Regions from separate parts of the Homo sapiens genome. Here regions 2, 3, 4, 5, 6 and 7 are each linked to region 1. The links are contacts of gene promoters, found by promoter capture Hi-C in blood cells and fetal thymus (Javierre and others, 2016). All regions are on one chromosome and are shown on one strand. The core of a region is centred on a gene start or on the middle of the fragment in contact, and the rest is flanking DNA. Distances in the headings are between cores, read along the strand shown. Region 1 holds the start of SDAD1 (SDA1 domain containing 1). Region 2 overlaps LOC107986292 (a long non-coding RNA gene). Region 3 overlaps CCNI (cyclin I). Region 4 has its middle 6.3 kb from the start of CCNI. Region 5 overlaps SEPTIN11 (septin 11). Region 6 has its middle 4.5 kb from the start of MRPL1. Region 7 overlaps CCNG2 (cyclin G2).

The links. Contacts are between HindIII fragments. The CHiCAGO score rates a contact against its expected background, and 5 or more counts as called.
Region 2: a fragment that was not itself captured here is called in contact with the fragment with the promoter of SDAD1 in region 1 in 1 of 17 cell types (fetal thymus); the score reaches 6.2 in fetal thymus.
Region 3: a contact is called between a fragment that was not itself captured here and the fragment with the promoter of SDAD1 in region 1, in 1 of 17 cell types (non-activated CD4 T cells). The highest score is 5.5, in non-activated CD4 T cells.
Region 4: a fragment that was not itself captured here is called in contact with the fragment with the promoter of SDAD1 in region 1 in 4 of 17 cell types (total CD8 T cells, activated CD4 T cells, fetal thymus and 1 more); the score reaches 8.1 in total CD8 T cells.
Region 5: a fragment that was not itself captured here is called in contact with the fragment with the promoter of SDAD1 in region 1 in 1 of 17 cell types (fetal thymus); the score reaches 5.3 in fetal thymus.
Region 6: a contact is called between a fragment that was not itself captured here and the fragment with the promoter of SDAD1 in region 1, in 1 of 17 cell types (monocytes). The highest score is 7.7, in monocytes.
Region 7: a fragment that was not itself captured here is called in contact with the fragment with the promoter of SDAD1 in region 1 in 1 of 17 cell types (total CD8 T cells); the score reaches 5.9 in total CD8 T cells.

Annotation. Positions count from the first base shown.
Region 1 is chr4:75,989,539-75,992,238 of GRCh38, forward strand. SDAD1 (SDA1 domain containing 1) reads right to left here and starts at 1,407. Exons shown (of 22, transcript NM_018115.4): 1 at 1,214-1,407. The coding sequence starts at 1,303. The region is part of intron 1 of SDAD1-AS1 (SDAD1 antisense RNA 1); the gene reads left to right. The HindIII fragment of the contact is 958 bases long and covers 1,278-2,235 here.
Region 2 is chr4:77,191,076-77,193,775 of GRCh38, forward strand. It overlaps LOC107986292 (a long non-coding RNA gene), which reads left to right. Exons shown (of 4, transcript XR_001741742.1): 4 at 1,136-1,498. Among named protein-coding and RNA genes, the nearest start is that of CCNG2, 35 kb to the left of the region's middle. The HindIII fragment of the contact is 2,729 bases long and covers 1-2,657 here.
Region 3 is chr4:77,060,077-77,062,776 of GRCh38, forward strand. The region is part of intron 2 of CCNI (cyclin I); the gene reads right to left. Among named protein-coding and RNA genes, the nearest start is that of CCNI, 15 kb to the right of the region's middle. The HindIII fragment of the contact is 3,762 bases long and covers 1-2,700 here.
Region 4 is chr4:77,080,988-77,083,687 of GRCh38, forward strand. It overlaps the pseudogene RPL7P17. Among named protein-coding and RNA genes, the nearest start is that of CCNI, 6.3 kb to the left of the region's middle. The HindIII fragment of the contact is 2,097 bases long and covers 246-2,342 here.
Region 5 is chr4:76,995,317-76,998,016 of GRCh38, forward strand. It overlaps SEPTIN11 (septin 11), which reads left to right. Exons shown (of 10, transcript NM_018243.4): 2 at 1,109-1,223. Among named protein-coding and RNA genes, the nearest start is that of SEPTIN11, 47 kb to the left of the region's middle. The HindIII fragment of the contact is 1,273 bases long and covers 746-2,018 here.
Region 6 is chr4:77,856,948-77,859,647 of GRCh38, forward strand. No RefSeq gene overlaps it. Among named protein-coding and RNA genes, the nearest start is that of MRPL1, 4.5 kb to the right of the region's middle. The HindIII fragment of the contact is 3,300 bases long and covers 1-2,700 here.
Region 7 is chr4:77,161,383-77,164,082 of GRCh38, forward strand. CCNG2 (cyclin G2) reads left to right here. Exons shown (of 8, transcript NM_004354.3): 5 at 98-176; 6 at 267-365. Among named protein-coding and RNA genes, the nearest start is that of CCNG2, 5.5 kb to the left of the region's middle. The HindIII fragment of the contact is 2,457 bases long and covers 140-2,596 here.

The DNA of each region.
Region 1 (2,700 bases), core at 157-2,656:
AGTAGTTATTACCCCCTTCTTACATATTAAAATACCCACATAGGCTCAGCGATTAACCTGCTTCGGTTACACAACTGGTTAACAACAGTCAGCAGCAGGAGTTATCTAACGGAATTATATAGACTCTCAACTTACCACTTTCTTTGCGAATGGCTATACAATGCTTTAAGCATCTCAAAGCCTTGCCTATGTTACTTAACTTCTTGTACTTGTTTCCTACTCTTTATTTCCACTACCTTGATCCTTGGAGAGGCTTTCTCTACTGGTGACCTAAGCCACTGAGATTGCCATGTGTTAAAAAGCACTCATAAAATACATATATGTGAAAATTTAGGGGAGGAGGGAAGTGAGAAGGGCAATGAAAAAATAAGTAATTGTGTTAGCCACTGAACAAATCACAATCTGGTAGAAGCACAAACATGTAATTGCAGCAAATGCCTAGCAGAGATACCTGTTTAATGCCCGTCTGATAAATGAGTGTCTGAAGGAAGCACCTGTCAGATTAATATATCAAAAACCACTTTCGTTTTGTCGGTACTTGGTTCAAACACCCCTAATGTTCACAACTTACATGAGGTCAGTACACAAAGCCCATCACAATGAGGGCCTAATTTTTCAACCTAATCTTTTCCCGAAGCAAATTCTGACATCCGAGTCATGCCAGTCTCCGGTAAGTTTGAATCCTGGCTTAACTAAATATACTAAGCTCCCGAGTCTGTCCGTTGTGCTTGAGAAACCCCCCCCCCCCCTTTCCTGGCACAGTCCAGGGTACACAGCCTGCTCTCAGAAACGGACGTCAATCGAAAGCATTCTAACATACGATTCATCAAAGGTTACCGACTAATTCAAGTTTGGGATTTCTGAAAAGAGGCTGAGAAATCCGCGTGGAAGTTGGTGGTTGGGTGCGGCCCATTTCTCTCTCCACTTCCGTGCGGACGAAGAAAAATATCTTAAAACAAAATGAGGTTTTAAAGGTGTTTCAGCGGCAGCAGGGCAGGTAGAAAATCCAAAGGGGCAACAGATTTTCAAGAGGTGGGGAACGAACCCTAAGGCATGTCCCGTCCCCAACCCCTTCTCTCCTCTGGAGGGACCCCTGAACCTAACAGAAGAATAGGCGGCGAGCCTGGATCCCAGCCCCACTCCATGCTTTCCCGCACCGGCGTCTCAACCATCCACTATCCGGCCTCTAGCGTCTGCCGCGCCGCACTCCCACCTCCTCGATGTAGGCCGGCGGGTCTCGCTTGATTAGATTCTGTAACTGCGGCAGGTTGCTGGGAAGCTTGTTGTTGTTTCTGTTGGACATTTTGGCTGCAGACAGACTTCGCGGCGAGCAGTTTTAAAAAAACTCAGACGGCCGGCACCCCGCAATCCCTGCCAGCTGCAGCTTGGACTCGTGTTTCCGGGTATGACCGGAAATAGCGCATGGGACTCTAGGCAGGCGACACCTTAGCGGTTCCTAAAGCGAGCTATGCTACGGAAGCCTCAGAGTGTCAAAATTACTCTCGTTGCCAAAATACTCTGTGGTGTATTGGAGAGCCAGCCACCGCCGACCCGCCCCTCGCCCTTGGGCATATGCTACTACTTAATATTGCCTTGCGTTTCTGAAAGGATCTGAAATGTAAATTTTTTCACGTGTGTTAGCATGTATCGTCATTCCGACACCCATATGAAGCACATAAATGAGGATTAATCGTTTATTTTTAATCCCGCAGTCTAAAATTAGAAACTGACGCCTGTAATCCCAGCACTTTGGGAGGCCAAGGCGGGCCTGAGGTCGGGAGTTCGAGACCGGCCTGATCCACATGGAGAAACCCCGTCTCTACTAAAATTACAAAATTAGTCGAGCGTGGTGGCGCATGCCTGTAATCCCAGCTACTAGGGAGGCTGAGGCAGGAGAATCGCTTGAACACAGGAGGCGGAGATTGCGGTAAGCCGAGATTGCACCATTTCACTCCAGCCTGGGCAACAAGAGCGAAACTCCGTATAAAAAACAAAACAAAACAAAACAAAACTGAAAAGAACCGTGGCGCTAGATAACACTATTCCCTCTTAGGAGGAAAAAAGAGCAACGAGGGTCATATAAGTTAATGTGTATGATTTTAGATATGTTTTTATTTTGGTTTTGGTTGTTTCAACTTAGCGTGACCCATACAAGGGAAAAGAGGGCTGGATAAAATGTGATCATGTTGACCATTAATAAATGCAATTAATCGTTAAAATTCAACCATCGTTATAAGCTTTGTAAGCACTCCTCAGTCAGAGTTTTTAATTCAGATCCTGGTAATTCGAAGAGGAGAATACATTTCTACAATCTCAAGGTGTAAAAAATCAATAAGGGTTGAATGAATGAGGTAGGGTGTTGTGAATTAGAGAGAGAGAAAAAAAAACCTAATTACCCACCCTGTGCCAGGCACTATTCCAAGCACTTGTATTAACTTATTTAATCCTCAGAACAACCCTCTAAAATAGGTGCTATTGTTATCTACATTTTACAGAAGAGGAAACAAGCTCAGGGAAGTTGACTGCCTCAATTCATAGCCTGTGAGGAAGATGAGATTTCAATCTAGACAGTCTTGATTGTAACTACATGAGAAAAAACATAGCCTAACAGCTGGTAGCTGGTTGCTGGTCTGGCAAAATAGCCAGACAATAGGGTTCTGCTTAACCAAAGCAATTTTATAGAACGCCAACCTCATCTGT
Region 2 (2,700 bases), core at 43-2,542, 1.2 Mb after region 1:
TTCTGTCTACCTGTAAAGTCTGTGTTCTTGACCACTATTTACCCAGTCTTCCATAGTAGGTGTTTTAAATTTTTGAGAAAGTTTTTTGTCTTTTTTTTTTTTTTTATTTTAATGGAGTCTCGCTCGCTCTGTTGCCCAGGCTGGAGTGCAATGGCATGATCTCAGTTCACTGCTTGAACCTCCTGGGTTCAAGCAATTCTCCTGCCTCAGCCTCCCAAGTAGCTGGGACTACAGGCGCCTGCCACCATGACCGGCTAATTTTTTTTGTATTTTTAGTAGAGACGGGGTTTCACCATGTTGCCTATGGCTGGTCTCCAACTCCTGGCCTCAAGTGATCCACTCCCCTTGGCCTCCCAAGGTGTTGGCATTACAGGCGTGAGCCACCGCACCCGGCCGAAAGGTTTTTTTAAACAGTTCTTCTCCAGCATGTTTGGCAATTTTGTTGATTCTATCTGGCTACCCTAAAGGAAGAGTATCTATCTCCTTTCTCCTGACTACAAGTATGTGAACACTCAAGATGAAAGAAGGGGACTAGCATCAGTAAATTCCCGGAAAGCACTGGTGACAGTCGCAGGAATAAACTAGGTCAATTTGTGTCTCATTGTCCATTGACCTATTGCCTTAGACTTGGTTAGATCTCAGTGTGATTCCAGCTGGCCTCTCAGCTTCTCTTCTTTTCATCCTCACATCTATCCTCCAATGGGATTCATGTAGCTAAACTTGCAGCTTTTCAAAAACTTTTGCTCTAAATACCTCTAATAATGGATAAGTGCCTCTGGAAACTCTGGGGAAGGTAGAGTTTAAAGCAGTCTGTGATAAGCATAAGATTTCTTTGAAGGCTCATGTTTTCTTAAGATTTCATGCAAATTTTACAATGTATTTCCTTTTTTTAAATTTTAAATCAATGTTTTATCTAGGAATGATTTTAGATTTACATAAAAATTGAGGGATAGTAAAGTGAATAACATATTCTCTTCACCTAGTTTCCCCTAATGTTAACATCTAATGTAACCACAGTACATTTGTCAAAACGAAAAGATTAACATTCGTATATTGCTAAGAACTCCAAACTTATTTGGATTTCACCAGTTTTTTTTTTTCACTAATATAGATTTTTTTGTTGTTGTTGTTCCAGAATCCCATCCAGGGTATGACATTGAACTTACTCATCACGTCTCTATAGTGTCTTCTGGTATGTAATACTTTCTCAGTCTTTCTTTATTTCCATAACCTTGATTAACTGTTTTGAAGATTACTGGTCAGCATTTTGTAGAATGGCTGTCAGTTTGACTTTGATGTTTTTCTTATGATTATGTTAGGGGTATGGGGTTTGAAGAAGCATACCATGGGAGCGAAGTGCTCTTCTCATCATATCAGGGGGTACATAATAGCAACATGGTTTATCTTTGATCATATTAATCTGGATCACTTGGTTAAGATAGTGCCTGCGAGGTTTCTTTTTTTGAGATGGAGTCTTGCTCTATCGCCCAGGCTGGACTGCAGTGGCGCGATCGTGGCTAACTGCAAGCTCCGCCTCCCGGGTTCACGCCTTTCTCTTGCCTCAGCCTCCCGAGTAGCTGGGACTACAGGGGCCCGCCACCATGCCCGGCTAATTTTTTGTATTTTTAGTAGAGACGGGGTTTCACCGTGTTGACCAGGATGATCTCAATCTCCTGACCTCGTGATCCGCCCACGTAGGCCTCCTAAAGTGCTGGGATTACAGGCGTGAGCCACCGCGCCCGGCTGAGGTTTCTGTACTATACAGTTATTACTTTTCCCTTCGTCTACTCTGTTCTTTGGAAGGGATTCTCTAAAACTTGCTCAGACTCAAGGAACGGGTGTGGTGATTAAACTCCACCTCCTGGAGTGGGGAGTTACATATATTATTTGAACTTTTTCTGCAAGAAAGATTTATCTCTTTTCCCATTCATTTATTTATATTGGTTTGGATTACTATTGTCTTAATATAAAATAAATCTTTTTATCCCCAAATGTACAAGTGGAATGACTTTCCAGAAACATGTGAGTCCTGAGGATACTCATACTTTCTAGCCCGCCGTTTGCGAAGCACAGACAAAACCCAAAGCCTCACTGGGTTACTTCCTTGCTTCCATTGAGTCATCCTCCTCAATAATACTTGTGAATGAACGAATAAATGCATAACACGCACAGGTGAGCGATGAGAAATACCAGCGTTGTCTGACGGTAAGGATATTTGTGTTCAACACCAGTGTCTGACCAAATAGCTACTCATATTTCTTCTGAAATTCTTTAGGGCACACTAAACATCTTCCATGTTGTCTAAGTGCTGGAAGGGAAATTGATTCAGCCACTTTTTGAAGGTGACTCTAAATTATTCTCTCAAAATACTCAACAGCCTTTACAATGTAGTTAAAAAAAAAAAGCGGGTGGAGGGGAGAAATGCCTGTCTAAAGTAGGAAGCCCCAAGAGAAAGCCCTGGGGCGTCCAGAGGCTTGGTTTCACCTGGCAGCCGTCTGGGACCAATTGCGGAGTTGAAGTAGCTCCTACGCTTTCTCATTGGTCCTCACCCAGGGGGAAGGCGTGGCTTCAAGTGTAAAAGGCGAGGAAGCCTGGCGGGGCTGTGGGTTGTTCCGCTGGTGGATGGTTTGGGGTTGGTCGGGCGGGGTTTCTTCCAAAGCTTTGTAGGCCTGCGAGGTACTAAGAAGTTCTCTGGTGGCT
Region 3 (2,700 bases), core at 54-2,553, 1.1 Mb after region 1:
AGATACAATGTGGGGTATGGGAGAAAAAAAAAAATCCCTGAATGACAGATTACATTAAATAATGTCACTATTTGGTGTTTGGCATTAAACAATAACAGAAACATACAATTGTAAGAAGAATCACAAAGGTAACATACAAAAAAAGAGAATACAGTTATATGGAGATTATCATATAGTTATAACTAAATGACATAACTAATGTAAAGCATATATATGGAATGCAAACGTACTCAAATATTAGTTCTCCTTTCCCACCTCTAAACTACCCAATTCTCTAATAATGTCAGAAAAACAAATTTACAAAACATTATCTATGAAGTTATTTTAAACACTGTTAACAATTAGTCATGAAAGAAATCATGACAATATCTTTGAACTTTAATATTCCATATACTTTTTGAGACAGGGTCTTGCTCTGTCACCCAGGCTGGAGTACAGTGGCACAACCATGGCACACTGCAGCCTCGACCTCCCAGCCCCAAGTGATCCTCCCACCTCAGCATCCTGAAGTAGCTAGGACCAGAGGTACGTGCCACCAGGCCCGGCTAATTTTTTTTTTTTTTTTGAGATGGAGTCTCGCTCTGTCACCCAGGCTGGAGTGCAGTGGTTCAATCTCAGTTCACTGCAGCCTCCGCCTCCTAGGTTCAAGCAATTCTCCCTGCCTCAGCCTCCCAAGTAGCTGGGATTACAGGCTTGTGCCATCACGCCTGGCTAATTTTTGTATTTTTAGTAGAGATGGGGTTTCGCCATGTTGGCCAGGCTGGTCTCAAATCCCTGACCTCAAGTGATCTACCCATCTCAGCCTCCCAAAGTGCTGGGATTACAGACGTGAGCCACTGCGCCCGGCCTAATTTTACTTTTTTGTAGAGACGAGGTCTCACTATGTTACCCAGGCTGGTCTTCAACTCCCAGGCTCAAGTAATCCTCCCACCTCGGCCTCCCAAAGTGTTGGGATTACAGGTGTAAGCCACTATGTTTGGCCCATATACCAGATAGTAAAATTTAACAACAGGGCCAAGAAAAGCATTCCTGCATAGCCAATGTTATCATCACTAGCCAAAACCAGCAATAATTTTTTTAAAATCCAAAAGATAACAGTTTAAGAAGACTCAATTTAACTGAAGTAATACTGAGTCTAAGGTCACTTTTTCAAATCAATTCAAATATGTACTAAACAGTAATATCATCATGACAGCATTACAAATAGTAAGTTCTGCGCCTAATTCATTTCATTCCTATTCCTCTAAAATAAAGAATGAGAGAGAAAAAGAAAAAGCCCAAAACAGTATTTCCTGATTCCATCAGGTGAACTGTTTCTCATATGGACTGCTTAAATAGGATTAGAAGGATTCAGTAGTTGAACAAATAATCCTAAAGAGAATTTATAATGGATTGATCAAACATGGTAAAATATAGACTGCTATTAATATATATTCTGTATATATATTATATTCCACATGCTGCTAGTCTTCTCCTTAAAATATACAACCTCCCCAGCTTTAAACTCTAAAAGGTTCACCATTACCTAAAAGATTAAGTACAATTCCCCAGCATGGCATACAAATCTATGACCTACCTCTTCTTTGTTGTTGTTGTTTTTGTTTTTTGTTTTTGAGACAGTCTTGCTCTGTCACCCAGGCTGGAGTGCAGTGGCGCAATCTTGGCTAACTGCAAGCTCCGCCTCCCAGGTTCACACCATTCTCCTGCCTCAGCCTCCTGGGTAGCTGGGACTACAGGCACCCGCCACCACACCCAGCTAATTTTTTGTATTTTTAGTAGAGACGGGGTTTCACCATGTTAGCCAGGATAGTCTCGATCTCCTGACCTTGTGATCCACCCGCCTCGGCCTCCCAAAGTGTTGAGATTACAGGTGCAAGCCACCATGCCCGGCTATGACCTACCTCTCTAACCTCGGACATCTTCCATCACTTTCTGTCTTAAACTTCATGCTGTAATAGTAACTTCTACTGATGATCCTTCCTTGCCCCTGGTATTTTACGTTACTGCTCCTTTGTTCATATTGCTCCTACTGACTGGAACGCACTCCCTTCTCTCTCACCTGCCTTATTATGTATCTCTTGAGAGCTATTTTGATGTTACTCCCCGCCAGATACTTTTCCTGATAATTCAAGTTGGGCTGAGTACCTTCCTATGTTCCCACAGCATCTCATTACACCTGTTAAACGTTCAACATTTTTTTAAAAATTAAATTTCTGGGCATGGCTCACAATTGTAATCCCAGTACTGTAGGGGGCCAAGGCAGGAAAACTGCTTGAGCCCAGGAGTTTGAAACTAGCCTGGGTAACACAGTGAGACTTCATCTCCACAAATAAAAAAATTAGGCATGGTGGTGCGTGCCTGTTACCTCAGCTACTTGGGAGGCTGAGGTGGGAGGATCACTTGAGCCTGGGAAATAGAGGCTGTAGTGAACTGTGATGGAGCCACTGCACCCCAGCCTGGGCAACAGAGCAAGACCCTGTCTCAGAAAAAAAAAAAAAATTAAATTTTTCCTTTTGGCTTTGATGAAGTAGGAAGCAGCAAATCTAAACTCCAGTTGAGAATGACTAGAAAAGCTGTTAACAACCTCTTTTTAAGATTCCTTAGAGTTCTAAAATTCTACTGAAAATCATCTGTATATCAACAATTTGTGGCAGGGTTTTATCTTTGTAAATCAAAAGCACTTTGGCAAAATAAATTGAG
Region 4 (2,700 bases), core at 44-2,543, 1.1 Mb after region 1:
AGCGCCACTGCACTCCAGCATTGGCGACAGAGTGACATCCTGTGTCAAAAAAAAAAAAAAGGAAGTATAAAGACTGTTCTGTAATGCAAAATAGTGTAAAGTGAGACCTCTTCAGAAGTCTAGGAAAATGGAAGGGAATCAAATTGATGGCCAGGAAGTGGTTCGCTATCATTAAATATTTCTAGAAATACTGCCTACATTTTTAGGAGTAAAGAAAGCAAGGCTGTTTCATGTTTAATGACAGAAGCTTCTATTCTCCTTTGTCCTAAATGAAATTTTTAGATAATGTTTCCACAAGACAATTTATGAAGGTACTATCTTGTAGGAGAGATGTTAAAGCCTACAAGAACAAAGGAAATTATTTACTGTCATAATCACTTAGCATCTGCCCACACTTTAGGATTCTTTTAACAACTTCTAAAATATTTTTCATTTATCTATACAGAGATAGAATGTAAGAGGAGTAAATGTCCCAAACCAACTTGGCATCAAGATATTAAGAGAAAAAAAAGTCCCCATTCACCAAATAATATAAAGACCTCCTCCTTAATATTAAGTGGGGAAAGTGCTCAGAGGGAATAAGTCAAGGAAGCCTCAAGCTGCCTTTTTTTTTTTTTTTAAGAGACAAGTGAACATTTATTTTTGTGCCTTTCTTCCTATGTGTATTTCAAGTCTTTTTCAAAACAAGGCCCCAGGAATCTCCAGATTCAATTGTGTCCCTGGGCTTGGTCGACTGCTGCAGGAGTCTTAGGGAACCTTGTACAAATGCTAGAGTTACTCATTTACCAACATTAAACCTTAGGATAGAAGATGCAACAAAAGCAGGACTCCTTCTTCCATGGAATATGCTGATTTCAGATGAGGCGACAGCCAATGTAGAAAACGCTGAAATTTTTCCTTGGAACTGGACTGTGATGAGAGGTGCTTGCCATGAACCTAAGCTACTGTCTTTTGTTTTCTTTTTTTTTTTTTTTTTTGAGACAGAGTTTCACTCTTGTTGCCCAGGCTGGAGTGCAATGGCGTGATCTCAGCTCACCACAACCTCTGCCTCCCGGGTTCAAGCGATTCTCTTGCCTCAGCCTCCCGAGTAGCTGGGATTACAGGCATGTGCCACCATGCCCAGCTAATTTTTGTATTTTTAGTAGGGACAGGGTTTCTCCATGTTGGTCAGGCTGGTCTCGAACTCCCGACCTCAGGTGATCCTCCCACCTCAGCCTCCCAAAGTGCTGGGATTACAGGCGTGAACCACTGTTCCGGCCAGCTACTGTCTCTGACCCTTCCTTTCCAGTGTTTGAAGATAAGGCAGGAAATAATCTTCTCTGAAGATACTTGATAAAAATTTCCAAAAAAGCAAAAACACATGCTTCCACTTCATTGACAAAAATTTACTGCCATTTGGCACCTGGGTCTGGTTCAGCTGGCGGATGAGCTGATTGATGCATTCACCCTGATAGCCAGCTGTGCCCATCTCCTTGAGGAAGCCCACTCTATTTTTGGTAGCATGACGGGCCACTGAGTGGTGGAAAGGGCACAAGAACCATGAGCTCTCCTGGAAATGCTTCCCTGGGAAGGCAGTTTCATGAATGAGGTCTTCCAAGCAAATGACACCAAACTTCCCCAGGTGCTCCTCAATCACTGTGTTTTCTGTCAGAGAGATGGTCTTATTCTTGACCTTGGCTTGTCCACGTTTCAAAATTCAAAATTCCTGGACAGACTTCAGATTTGGAAATCCCTAGGTCACATAAGGTTCCACTATACGCAGCATTTTTAGGTTCTTGGGGGTGGCTTTTACAAAGACACCATTAAAAATTTTCTTTAGGCGAAGTCTTGCAATGGTTCTCTGCCCCAGTAAACTCACACCATCAATCCTTTTGATGCACACAACAAAGGCCAAGGAATGTTCATCTGGCAATTCCAAGGCATGAGGTTTCACTTCTAGTTGTCTGAGAAGCAGCTTGTCATGTTTCTGCCACCAGGAATCATGTTGGAATGATTCCAGTCGCTTAAACCTGAGCTCTTTTCCTTTGCTCCTTCTTTGCCAAAAGTGCCTGCTTTGCCTGGGTGGCTTTGAGGGCTTGATAAGCCTTCACCTTTTTCAGGAGATTTTCTGGAACCAAAGGGATTTTTCTTTGCCCTTGATCCACCGTCTTTCTAGTGTAGCAGCTACTGATCTGGCACAACCCCACCACATGGGGAAGACAGCACTCACTCTGTTTACTTGACCATAGAGACATCAGTTCTAGCTCACGCTGGAGGACCCAGAGAGCCAGCCTGCACTTAGCAGCATTGAGACACTGAGGTCCTGCTAACCCTGATTCCTGCCAAAAGTTGCAGTGCTTCCAAGCTTTTTAGAGCCTGTGTCATTTACAAAACCCAGCCCTTTTCTTGTAGGTTAGTTTCATCACACTGGCGGTTTGGCTTTGGACAATAAAGTGCTTCCCACAACGCACCTACAGCTTCCGCTCTAGTGATGGCGCCGCACTTCCCGCGCGGCTCTGCTGCAGCCTCAAGCTGCTTTCTAAACTTGGGCCAACACTCAATATAAACTAGCTTTAGGTTTCTCATATTTAAGGAGTGATTTAGGAAAGTCTCACCAGAAGGGATCATTGGTTTCATGCTTCATTAAGAGGAGCCACGGAGATCAAACAGCAACCACCTATTTGAAAGTTGTATCTCAAAAGACTTCAGTAGAAACATTTG
Region 5 (2,700 bases), core at 132-2,631, 1.0 Mb after region 1:
GGTTGCAGTGAGCTGAGATCGTGCCACTACACTCCAACCTGGCGACAGAGTGAGACTCCATCTCAAAAAATAAATAATAAAAATAAAAATAATAAATAATAAAAATAAAAATGGAGCTTTGAGGATCATTTTCTCACCTGGACTCCAGTATTTTGAATATAAAGTTCATTGACAACACAGCCAGAACACTAGGAGTCCTGTCTCCAAGGAGAAGACTTTCAGTGTCTAATTTCTGAAATTGCAAACCATAACCATGATATTATAACTGAGGGACTGTAGCTGATCTCTGCATCTTGAGAAAAAAAGGTTTCACAGATTATCTCCAACACCCACGGGATGCATTCAAAGTTGTGGGGGCAGCCAGTACCATTTTATATAACAGCATAAATCACCCAGTGATTTTACTTTAGCTTCCAGCCATATCCTATGTGATTTTAAAATGTATGATAACTACCTTACCCTAGTCTACATCGGTAAACTCTGCAAAACTCCAGCAGTTACAGAGCCTGTGCTAGGAGCTACAGGGTGAAGAGGGGGAAGAAGACTCAAGAAACCTGTAAAACTAATGGAGGAGAGGAAACCAGCTCATGTGCTGAGAAGTTTTAAATATGCTGCATTTATGGTAGGTAGAGCATTGTCATCATTGTAAGGAGTATGAATCCTCCACTGTGAGCTTTTCAAAGTTCTTTTATGTATCTGGAAGAGTGTTAAATATTTTTTCACTATGAGTTGACAGTAAATTGAAAGCTTTTCTTGAATAATGAAAGTGATCAAAATGACTGGAGGTTTTTGTGTTTTTTTGGTCACTTAATGCATATCTGAAATAGTCACCTCTAGAAGCTCAAATTTCCCTGGACCAGTACACTTGTAACAAGGAATGAGATGCTCAGGGAGATGGTCTGCTTTGGGAGACTGTGACTTTTGTGGAAAGAGCTTGGCTTTGGAGTTGTTAGTGCCCTCAGCTGTGTAGAAGCCAAGGCAGCTGTGGAGGGTCTCCTTTTTCCATGTATGTCAAGGGAAGAAGAAGAAAGAATGTAATGTTTGTGATATGTGATATCCAGGTGGCATGGTTCATGGACACTCAAATCTTTCTCCCCTGAAATTGCAGAATGAAGAGCTTCGAAACTTGTCTTTGTCTGGCCATGTGGGATTTGACAGCCTCCCTGACCAGCTGGTCAACAAGTCTACTTCTCAAGGATTCTGTTTCAACATCCTTTGTGTTGGTAAGTTATTCATCACCCCACAGCAAGAAATTTGATCCTTAGATATTGACAGGTAACTGTCGGAGAGACATGCTTCAGTGAAATAAGAATGACATGTTTATTCTCTTTCTTTCATCAGTAAAACAAGGCAAAATATCTGCCTTATACATGTCACAAGTTATAAAGATTGAGAGCTGTATTTAGGTAAATGCGTTGTATGTTTTGTCATGTTACTCAAATTACTATTAGTATTTCTGTCACACAGTTAAGCAACTGATCATTACAATATTGTTAAGATCCCTTAAACATTTTACTTTGGACTAGGCCTCTGCCTTGGTATTTTTCTTCACCCCTCTAGCCATATCTTTTTTTTTTTTTTTTTGAGGAGTCTTGCCCTGTTGCCCAGGCTGGAGTGCAGTGGGGCGATCTTGGCTCACTGCAACCTCTGCCTCCCAGGTTCAAGCAATTCTCCTGCCTCAGCCTCCTGAGTAGCTGGGATTACAGTAGCCACCATGCCCAGCTAATTTTTTGTATGCCATATCCTTTTTGGACTAAGAAGAGGAAGGTGGAAAGGAAGGGGGATAAAGAAAATCAAAATATAAATTTCCTGTTAGTTTGAAGGAGAAGTGTGTGTGGAACAGATGGCTGTTCCTCTCTCTCCCCATCACGCCTGATGAATGGCAGGTGAAACAGCAGTGAAGTGGTTTGGGCTGTGTTGATCTGTTGGCATTGTCCTCTGGGCATTTCCCTCTGAGACATCACTTTGAGACAGATCAAAGAATTCTGTATGTAGCCAAGTGGACTGTCTTTTCCCTAAGCTTGGCAGAATGTGTCAGACTTACTTTTCTTGTCCAAGTAAAGCAAAGAGAATTTAGAAAAGGTGTGTGTTCAATGTGAGAACCACCATTTGCTTATTTGTCAGTTATGGAAGTTGGGGGGAGTGCAGATATTTTTCTTTTTTAAAAACTTCTTGAACTTCTTGATGACTCTACTGCATGTAGCCTCTGTGCTGGGCATTCATTAGTAGAAAGCCACAATTGGCAGGCACGCTACACCAACTTGCTCCCTGGCATTGTATCTTAAGCACTGGATAAGAGAAAGACTGGAGAGAACACAGCCAACTCTCATCTCATGCTTTCCCCTTTTCCCTACGTGAAGCCTTTTAAAATTCAGCAGGAGACCTCCCGAATGGCAGCTAGTTCTACAGAGTGGCGTGAATGGGTTGTCCTTTCTCTCATGATAAATGCTCATTGCAGAGCAGGGCAATTCTTCATTAGCATAGCAATTTGTTGGCAATTTGTTGGGTTTCTATTGAAAAGTATGCTAAATTGTAATCGCAGGCCAATTACTATTCTGGCTTCTCTTCAGTGCCTCCCCAGCCCTGTCTCCAAAATCAGCTCTAAGAACATGTCTGAGAGTTCTGTCCTGGCTCCTGCAGGGGACGGTAGGGGAAAGCCTTCTGGTGGGATCCTGGTTTAACTGGGTATGTGGTGTGCAG
Region 6 (2,700 bases), core at 88-2,587, 1.9 Mb after region 1:
GCGGTATCTCTGCTTTTCTTGCCATCCTTATTCCCTTATATTATTGCAACTCACTGGCTTCCTGTAACTTCACTCACTCGTCATTTCTGTTCCCTAATAGTTTCAGATTGCCTTTCAAGGCCGTTCTAGCATGGAATTTATTCTATGACCCTGGAGCTTGAATTTTCCCACCTGAGTGTTTCAGTCTTTCATTTTCCCAACTTTGGTTTTGTGAGAGGAATAATTGATCTAGTTTTTCTTTTCAAGGCAGGTCACTGGCCATGTATGGGTGGGCTTTCCTTGGGTCAGATGGCTTCCACTGATCCAAATATCCTGGGCTGGGGAATTTTATTTATGTGAGAGGAGGCAGTTTCTACCAGAAGCAGATGTGGGTGGGGCAGGAAGCTAATGGTATTTTTAGTATCTCTATTGAAAGACGCTGAAAGATGGAGGCAATGGAGTTTACTCCCAGAAATTTGTGAATCTACTTAAACTTATTCTATTCCCTGTATTAGAAGGAGCCTATTTAAAAGGTTCTGGTTTGGGATTAATGATAGGTATGTGAGTTTTGCTCTCAAATATGCTCTAGGACCTTGCTACTCAAAGGGTGGTCTGCGAACCAGCAGCATCAACATCACTGTTAGGAGCCTGTTAGAAATCAGAGGCCGGGCGTGGTGGCTCATGCCTGTAATCCCAGCACTTTGGGAGGCCGAGGCGGGTGGATTGCCTGAGGTCAGGAGTTCGAGACCAGCCTGGCCAACATTGTGAAACCCCATCTCTACTAACAATACAAAAATTAGCCGGGCGTAGTGGCAGGCGCCTGTAATCCCAGCTCCTTGGGCGGCTGAGGCAGGAGAATCACTTGAACCCGGGAGGTGGAGGTTACAGTGAGCCAAGATCACGCCACTGCACTCCAGCCTGGGGGACAAGAGAGAGACTTCGTCTCAAAAAAAGAAAAAAAAGAAATCAGAATCTCAAGCCCCATCCTAGGCCTACCAAATCAGAATCTACATTTTAATAAGATTTCCAGGTGATTTGAATTCACATTAAAGTTTAATTATGGCTCTAGGATGAATTGGTTTGGTTTAGGCCTCCTAAAAATTACTGAAGACTTGCACTTGAAATCTTCTAGTAGTATGTTGTAGCTATGCAAGAACCAATTGATAAATTGTCAGAAATTTTGAGTTGGTTGATTTTATGTTTGGTGGCTTGAAGTCACCTACTTGTGGGAGTATTTACACCATGGAAATTGACAAATGGTACAAATTCATTTCTTTTATACTGGAGAACCAGTTGTTAAACTTTTACCAACACACCACTGGACAGTTCTAAATCTCCTAAATCAATCTACTATTAAACAAATCTCCTGGGGGCTTTTGGACATAAAAACTGTCACGTGTGGGGGACAAGACAAAATGAGTTCCAGTCTGCCACTTACTGAACTTTCAGCCTTGTGACTAAAAAAACATTTTCCTAGATAGACATTTCTTCATGGGAAAAAAAGATCTGATTCCGAAGTAAGCACAAGGGGGAAAGGGAATCTAGGAGTTGGTAATACTTAAGACCCAGATAGGCAGACAGACAGGCATTGGAAATTTTCTCAGCTGGCAGGTGGACAGTTTGGAGTTGAAACCCAGGCATAGAATAGCAGTTTGTATGTAGAGAGGAAGAAAATAAGACTGGGTAGATTCTGGTTCTGGAGACATATCCCATGAGGAACGTTTATAGTCTATATTATATTGACCATAAAAATTTTAAACAAAACAACAGCTCCTCCCCAAGTTAACATTGGGTATAAATGCAAATATTTCATGGTATTACATAGGGAGTAGTTTTGAAAGTACGGTCACTGGGCCAGTAAATCAGTATCTCCTGAGAATTTATTATACTCACAGGCCCCATCTCAGACCTACTGGATCAGAAGCTCTGGGGGTGGGGCCCAGCAACCTGAGTTTAACAAGCCTTCTGAGTGATTCTGATGCACATTACTGAAATAGGAAATGTCTTGGAGTTCCTTATTTTTGTCTAATAAGAGAATCCATTTTCTTTTTTCTTTTTATTTTGAGATGGAGTTTCACTCTTGTTGCCCAGGCTGGAGTGCAATGGCGCGATCTTGGCTCACGGCAACCTCTGCCCCCTGGGTTCAAGCGATTCTCCTGCCTCAGCCTCCCATGTAGCTGGGATTACAGTCATGCACCACCACGCCTGGCTAATTTTGTATTTTTTTAGTAGAGACAGGGTTTCTCCATGTCGGTCAGGCTAGTCCCGAACTCCTGACGTCAGGTGATCCACCCGCCTCGGCCTACCAAATGCTGGGATTACAGGCGTGAGCCACCACGCCCGGCCGAGAATCCATTTTCAACTTGAACCCCAAAGGGAAGTGACACTTCTTGCAAAGAAGTTTCCAACTCAACTGGAAGATGGCTGAAGAAGGCAGAGAACACAGATCAAGTAAGTTACAGGGCTAGACAAATATTTATTAGCTTTTCCCAGGGAAATTAGCCAAGCAGGCTGGCAGCTGGCATTTTGCCAAGACTCCTGGAAAGTATAAATCTTCCTAGAAATCAAAAGTTGCATTTTAAAGTGAATTTTAAGTCCATAATACAGTCTAAAGACCTTCTGCAAATACATATAAAAGTTCTAATATAAAGAAAGTGACATCCTTATACATGTGGGAATAACAACAGCATGGATCATGTTAAGAAATAAGCAGATATTGGA
Region 7 (2,700 bases), core at 118-2,617, 1.2 Mb after region 1:
TGAGACACCGCGTCTGGCCCTGGCAAATATTTAAAATCATTTAAAATCATTTAAATCTTTGGAAGTTTAATAAATCTTTGTTCTTTGCATTGTATAGGAAAGAAATACTGAGCCTTGATAAACTAGAAGCTCAGCTGAAAGCTTGCAACTGCCGACTCATCTTTTCAAAAGCAAAAGTAAGTCGATTCCTTGCTTATGTATATATCTCACAGTTTGTATTTTGAATTTTTAAAAAATATTTTTCTTTTTTTTCTTTTTTCTTACAGCCATCTGTATTAGCCTTGTGCCTTCTCAATTTGGAAGTGGAAACTTTGAAATCTGTTGAATTACTGGAAATTCTCTTGCTAGTTAAAAAACATTCCAAGGTAATTACAGTCATTATTCTTTAAGGCAAATTTTTTTCCTGATGTTTATTTTTTTCTGTGGTGACTTAAACATTAAGTAATACTTTATGGGACTCTTAACTTTTACACTTGTTTTTTTTCTTATATCTCTAGTGTTAAAGTTCTCAAAATGCAGCTTTGACCCAGACAGTATTAATCCGGAAGGGAACCTGGTCACTTAGCTCAGCTTCTTTCTGCATATAGGTGCCCCTTCTGTAGTAATCATGCCATATGATAGTACAGCTGTTACATTGCCACATATGCATTGTTCTGAAATGCATACTAGGTAGTAGACTCAGAACAAACACTAATGGGATAGGATGGGATCCCATCACACCTGTAGGACTGAACTGTCATCCCATTAGCAGCAGCATCAATTAACACCAGCAATGTTGATGTTTTAAACCCGAATGTCTTTTCAAATCCTTTAGGCCAGCTAAGTAAAAGTAAGTCTTACCATCACAAAGAGATATAAAACAAAAGCACAATACTTTTTCTTAAACTCTCAGTCTAGTTGGGGAAATGAGGAACTTAACATGAAGTGGTGTGTTCTGTCATTTGTTATTGTGTCTTGGTGCCAGGTAATAGTGAATATAGAGAGTACTTTGGGATTTTTTTTTTTTTTTTTTTTTTTTTTGAGACAGTCTTGCTCTGTTGCCCAAGCTAGAGTGCAGTGGCATGATCTTGGCTCACCGCAACCTCAGCCTCTCGGGTTCAAGTGATTCTCCTGCGTCAACCTCCCGAGTAGCTGGGGCTACAGGTGCTCACCACCATGCCAGGCTAATTTTTATATTTTTGGTAGAGATGGGGTTTCGCCATGTTGGCCAGGCCGGTCTTGAACTCCTGACTTCAAGTGATCCCACCTGCCTTGGCCTCCCAAAGTGCTGGGATTACAGGCGTGAGCCACTGTGCCCGGCTTACTTTGGGTTTTTTTTAAGCAAAGAAATAGGGCAGACTAGGAGAAACACTATGACTGGGAGCCTGTTTGGAGCAAAAGAATCTTTGACAGTGAAAGTTTCAGCGAAGGCTTAACGGCCAAGAAATTGGTGGACTAGACAGATATAAAAGTCATTTTAGGGTAGACTTACAGGTACAATGTCTAGGTGGTAGTCACAAGCAGGAGTAAGGCTGTCCAACTCAAACAGTGGTTTTGGAAGCCAAGCATGGAAATGAGGCAAGGAGTCTTGAATGACCAAGATTTGTACCTAATGGTGGATATAATATTAGCATAATTGGCAGGAAATTTGGGAGAAGTTAATTTGTGATGAGAGCAATATGATTTTAGATGCTTGTGTACACAGGTGGGTGTCTAGTAGGTGTTTGGCGTTTTGGAATAAGAAGATAAACTATAGTTAGAGATTGAGGTTTGGAATTTCTCATGAAGAAGCAGTAGTTGAAACGGTAAGAAGCTGTGGAATCCTTTTTGTAGGGGTCAGTTGAAGCTCTGGGGTTTTCAGCGTTGGCCTTTCCCCCCAACATTAGGAGCCAAGTGAAGAAAGGTACATCCCCACAAGTAGAAGCACTGTCAGACTGGAAGGAGGTTTTTAAGGAGGTGGTCAGGAGTATTGAATTTTTATAAGAGATCCAATATAATGAAAATTGAAGGTCATTGGGTGTGTCAGAGGTAATGTCAGTAGAGCAGTGAGAAGGAAGTGGTAGAAACCAGATTACAAGTGGGTTAGGATGTAGCTACATTAGGTGAAAATGGGAAGCCAAGAAAATAGATCTTCTGTTTTCTGGTGAAAATATGTGCATGTGAAGCATTTTGTTTGTAACAGATAACTTTTTGCTTTAGTTATGATTTTATTAGTTTTTATCTGAACTTTTTATTGATAGTGATAGCTGGAACCATCTTCAGTGAAAATTGATTCGTTGAAATAAACTGAAGGCATTCCGAAGGAGGAGGGAAAAAAATACGTAAAAAGAAAAACAAAAAAGAAATAAACTGGAGCACTGCCCAGTGGTGGCGGAACTATGTCCTTTTTGGGAAATTCCTGTTCTCTCATATCACTAACTTCTTTAGTTTTGTATCTGGTGTTATAAGTGTGTATTACCAGCAATCCAAACAATGCCTTGTTGCAGGAACCCAAATTGGTTTCTGTAACAAAAGGAATGTTAAATTCCTTTGCATTGAGACTAAGGACTATACTTGATAGCTGATTTATTAACAGACCCAGAGTGTTTTTAGGTCAGTGTTTTCTTAGAATAGGCAAAGCTTTCTGTGTATTGAATCCTATGTAGTTTTATACTTACGGTGCTCTTCTCCTAAACCAGTGGTTCCCAAATTTTGAAAGTTTGGCTGCACATTACAATCACC